Linked DNA regions of Homo sapiens: region 1 is linked to region 2. Evidence: promoter capture Hi-C in human tissues and cell types (Jung and others, 2019). All regions are on one chromosome and are shown on one strand. The core of a region is centred on a gene start or on the middle of the fragment in contact, and the rest is flanking DNA. Distances in the headings are between cores, read along the strand shown. Region 1 has its middle 40 kb from the start of DMRTA1. Region 2 holds the start of DMRTA1 (DMRT like family A1).

Region 1 (2,700 bases), core at 10-2,509, 40 kb before region 2:
ATGTGAGAGAATTGTAAAAGAACTCTATTAGGTATAGAAACCAAACAGGATCCTGGGGACAAGATGGCTGATTAGACACAACCAGAAAGCACTGCCCCTACCAAGAGAAACCAAGGTTTTAAGTAAACCAACATACTGGACTGATCTTCAAAGAGAAAATGCTAAGAATGGATAAAGATGAGATGCAGACACTGAGGCTGAAGAGAGAAGAGGACCCTTTGTTGGGTACCAAAATGCTGAAGCTGCTTCCTTGCCCTAAATGGCTCCTTGGGAATGGGTGAGTTAAGGGACTGTGGGACTCCCTAGCTTTGCCATGGACCTCTGGGATCCAGGCTACAGCGAGTCCCATATCCCCCATGGACATTTAAGTTGACAGGAGGTTCTTCCTAGAGAGTAGACAGAGAGGAGCTTTAGCAGTGGAGGAACCCACGGGTCTTTGTGCACAGTGCAGCTTTGGCTGAGCATGGCCACAGGCGCTCATCCCTCAGAGCTCCCCATCTCCCTCCGAGAAGTTCTAGCCCCTGCTGACTGACAGGCGAGGAGAAAGTGGGGCATTTCCCTGTGGGACCGGGGCACATCTGTTCAGCAGGCCCTCCTGCCTGCCAGCTCCTCCCAGGGCCCCTGTCTGGCTGCCGTGCGGGAACATGTGCACAGCACAGCCTCTGCTACCCGGTCTGGTTGCTTCGCTCCACCGATTCACTTTTCCAGCAGGCTGAGAACACTTTGGATTCCCTAGGGCACCCAGAACTCGAATCCAAGGGTCCAGAGGTCAAAGTCACAAGCTGATCCTGGCACTTCAGGGTTGCAGTGCACAGCTTGGGAGTGCCAAGCTGCGATTTGTGGCCAGCACTCAAGTGGGAGTCTACACTCCCAGAAAACTGAGGGGATTGAGATGCATAAGTTCATGGGCTAGAGCAAGACTAGGTTGTGCCTCCTTCTGCAGGATTGACCTGGAACTGACCTCTGCCCAGGGAGCCCCATGGCCTGGAACACCTAACAGAAGAAATGCAGGTCAGTGCCAGTGATCAGAGAGGGCGTCCACGAGGCCCAGGAATGGACCTGGTGAAGGAGTCACCTCTTTGCCTCCCTCTAGCAATTAACATGGCTGCAAATGCAAGGAAATATAGAGGAGCTCTGTGGCTAAAAGCCTGTTTACTGCCCATTACTGTTAAGCACCATCTACTGGATCACAGCCCAAACTATAATACATCACTAAAAATATTTTGATAGCATATTCCTTTGTGAAACCAAGGGCAATAATTCAGATGTGAAAGAATCAGCAAGAACTCTGGCAATTTCATGTCTATGGCTATATCACCTAAAATGTGCTGATCTCATCTGATTGAGCTAAAAAGCCAGTGTCCTTTTACCTCCAAATGAATCCACTACCTCCCAAGCAATGGTATATAACCAGTCTGAGATGACTGAAATGAGACATATAGAATTCAGAATCTAAATGACAAGGAAGCTCATTGAGATTTAGGAGAAAGTTGAAATTCAATCCATGGAATCTACTAAAACAATCCAAGACAAAATAGCTATTTTAAGAAAGAACCAAACTGAAATTCTAGAGCTGAAAAATTCACTACAAGAATTTCATAATACACTCAATCAGAAGTATTGACAGAAGAATAGACCAAGCTGAGGAAAGAATCTCAGAGCTTGAAGACCTGTCCTTTGAATCAACTTAAATAAAAAGGAAGAAAAAATAATTTTAAAAAAATGAACAAAAACTCAGGAAATATGAGATTATGTAAAGAGACCAAGTCTTCAATTCTTTGGCATTCTTGAGAAAGAGAGAATAAGCAATTTGGAAAATATATTTGAGGATATAGTCCATGAAAATGTCCCTAATATCACTAGAGAACTTGACATGCAAATTCAAGAAATACAGAGAACCCTGACTATGTACTATACAAGACAATCATCCCCAAGGCATATGGTCATCAGATTTACCAAGGACAACACAAAAGCAAGCATCTTAAAGGCAGCTAGAAAGCAGGGGGAAGTCATGTACAGAGGGAACCCCATTAGGCTACCAGCAGACCTCTCAGCAGAAACCTTATAAACCAGAAGACACTGGGGACCTATTTTCAGCATCCTTAAAGCAAAGAAATTCCAGTGAAGAATTTCATATTCTGCCAAACTAAGCTTCATAAGTGAAGGAGAAATAAGATCCTCCTCAGACAAGCAAATGCTGAGGGATTCATTTTAACTAGACCAGTCTTATAAGAGGTCTTTAAGGGAACACTAAACATGGAATCAAAAGAACAACACCTGCTACCACAAAAACACACTTAAGCACATAGCCTATGGGCACTATAAAGCAACTAAACAATCAAATCTACAAAACAACCAACTAGCAACATGAAGACAGAATTAAAGTCTCACATATGAATACTAGCCTTGAATGTAAATGGACTAAATGCCCCATTTAAAAGATACAGAGTGGCAACAAGGATAAAAAGACAAGACCCAACCATGTGCTGTCTTCAGGAGTGCCATTTCACATGTAACAACACCTACAGGCTCAAAGTAAAGGTATGGGGAAAGATATGCCATGCAAACAGAAGACAAAAAAGACCAAGTCTTGCTACCCTTATATCTGATAAAACAGACTATAATCAGACTGGGCATGGTGGCTCAGGCCTGTAATCCTAGCAGTTTGGGAGGCCGAGGCGGGTGGATCACTTAAGGTCA
Region 2 (2,700 bases), core at 177-2,676:
AAAAGAATAGAAAAGAAAATTGCTTTCTCGTTAGGTAATTCATTGTATTTTAATGATCCATTTAGAACTAAAAACTCATCTCTCAAAGGACGGATGTGAGTCCACAGTTAGGGCATCAGTACATTTTAGGCAGGAGTAGCTTGAACAAAGATAAAGAGTTGTGAGAAAGGTTGGATATCATAGAACCCCCAGAGGTTAGGAATTCCTTGAGTGGTAGTTCTAAACATTGTATGTAATTTTCACCTTCAGAGTTTAAGACACAGACAAAAAGAATCAGAATACATTACGTAGATTGGAGTGTCCATCTCTTTTAAAAGTTCCCTAGGTAGTTCCAGTTCTTAGGAAGGGTGGAAAACTTCTACGATAGGATGTTTGTATGAGAGGATGGTAGTGGTGGTGATGGTGTTGAGTAGGTTGGTAGGAGAAAGGCCAGATAGATCAGCAATATCTGCTCTGAATGTGAACAGGTGGAATGGTAAAAATATCATTATTAATTGCTATCTTAGGGATGGAAAATGAATAACTTGTCCAAGGTAGTTGGATACCATCTTGAAGAGCTGGCAGAGTGCTGACGCTACCTTCCATTAAGAATAAACATTCATGAATTTTCTATCTCAGATGCTCTTTTGACTTAAACGCCTTATGGTCTTTTCTTATAATTAAAGGCATTAAATTCATATGTGAAGAATGCATTCATGACAGCATATTTAAATAATGATCTAAACGACTTTCCCCAATACTTTACAATAGACATAAGTATTTTTGAAACAGCTTTAACACAATCGCTGCCTATAAATAGGCGCAGAGAAGAGTTTGATAACTTTTTTAAAGTAGCAGTATTTTAAAATAGAGTACACACAACCCAAATTCGCATGTGTAAATAAATAGAATGCATGAAAAGAATCTGAATGTGAATCACTTCCCTTAGTTATTTATCCATTGTTTTGATGCTGTCCTAAGACCCATTTAAAATAAGGCATCTTTCTGGTGGGTAACAAATTCGTAGTCTATCAAGCTGGGATCCCACTAACATTGGCCAAACTGCTGCAGACATGAAGACTTCATCTGGGAACCCGAAAGGAGAACTCAAAATCCAAATCTTCAGACTTTCTTAGGAGAAGCGTGGAAGTGGGAAAAGGAGAAATTCAAACTCTGCTTAATTTCAAAAGGGCAGTAAAAGGGGAGGCTGCAAAGGCTAGTTTACAAAAATAGACGTCGAGAACTCCTAGGGAAGCAAGTAGAAACGGGCTTTTTTTGGGGGAGGAGACATTTGCAGCCCATTGGACGGATTCCCCGCCGCCCTCCTCCCAGAAGGTCCCCACTCCCCGCCCCGGGCCCTCCCCCGGCTTCCGCGCTGGGCCGGGAGCCTGGGTGGGCGGGGTAGCCTCTCTAGCCTTGCCTTCTTGGCTGGAGGCACAAAGGCATTAACTTAGCGCCCGGGGTCTCTGCCAGGCTCACGGGACAGCTGCACCTCTCAGCGTCTCCAGCTCCAGGACGCGGTCGTCCCAACTCCTTCCGAGTGGAAAGAGTGTAAAACTTTTGTCCGTGCGCGGGTGGAGCTCAGTAGGACCACGGCGCGTCCTGCCCCGGCTTCCCCAGCCTCCCAGCAGGGTTAGCTGCGGTCAGCGCACTTTCCACTTGGGACTCCCGGCCAGAAATTTCTCGGGAATGGAGCGGTCACAGTGTGGCAGCAGAGACCGAGGCGTTAGCGGCCGACCTCACTTGGCCCCTGGGCTAGTGGTGGCTGCCCCTCCGCCCCCGTCCCCGGCGTTGCCGGTACCATCGGGGATGCAGGTTCCCCCAGCGTTCCTGCGGCCGCCCAGCCTCTTTCTGCGAGCAGCGGCCGCGGCCGCCGCCGCCGCTGCCGCCACCTCGGGAAGCGGAGGCTGCCCGCCGGCTCCCGGGCTGGAGAGCGGGGTAGGCGCGGTGGGCTGCGGCTACCCGCGGACGCCCAAGTGCGCCCGCTGTCGTAACCATGGTGTGGTGTCAGCGCTCAAGGGCCACAAGCGCTTCTGCCGCTGGCGGGACTGCGCGTGTGCCAAGTGCACCCTGATCGCCGAGCGCCAGCGCGTCATGGCCGCCCAGGTGGCGCTGCGCAGGCAGCAGGCGCAGGAGGAGAGCGAAGCCCGGGGGCTACAGAGGCTCCTGTGCTCGGGGCTCTCCTGGCCCCCCGGTGGTCGGGCATCCGGGGGCGGCGGCAGAGCCGAGAATCCACAGTCCACGGGCGGCCCTGCGGCGGGGGCTGCGCTGGGACTGGGTGCCTTGAGACAGGCCAGTGGTTCCGCGACCCCCGCTTTCGAAGTTTTCCAGCAAGATTATCCTGAGGAAAAACAAGGTGAGTTGGTCTTTGATTTACTCTTTGCTCAAGGAATGGTTGTTCTGGAAAGAAACTCTGAAACAAGCCACCGTGTCCATAGGCGGGCAGGAATAGTTGTTTAAAAGAAACACTTTAAGTTTTGGGGAACTGCTCAGCAATATGGACATTAATGAGAGTGTGAGAGACCCCATCGCCTTCACTTTGGAGGAATTTACTGTTGTTCCCTCAGGTGATAGGATGAGATAATGAAAAAATGAAGCATGGGTGGTAACAAATGAGCAATTCACCCTAGGAGTAGAGTTATTTACTCGGAAGTTGATTTGACTTTCACTGTGTGAGTAGAACTTCAAGCAGGCATTGAGCGAAAAGCTTCGTAAGAGGTG

The links. The method cuts DNA at HindIII sites, captures the fragments that hold promoters and counts their contacts. A contact is called where the count stands out against the background at its distance.
Region 1: a contact is called between a fragment that was not itself captured here and the fragment with the promoter of DMRTA1 in region 2, in 1 of the 25 tissues and cell types used here (pancreas).

The regions. Positions count from the first base shown.
Region 1 is chr9:22,405,649-22,408,348 of GRCh38, forward strand. No RefSeq gene overlaps it. Among named protein-coding and RNA genes, the nearest start is that of DMRTA1, 40 kb to the right of the region's middle. The HindIII fragment of the contact is 4,176 bases long and covers 1-2,700 here.
Region 2 is chr9:22,445,398-22,448,097 of GRCh38, forward strand. It overlaps DMRTA1 (DMRT like family A1), which reads left to right and starts at 1,427. Exons shown (of 2, transcript NM_022160.3): 1 at 1,427-2,335. The coding sequence starts at 1,669. RefSeq lists an enhancer at 1,603-2,102. The HindIII fragment of the contact is 10,852 bases long and covers 1-2,700 here.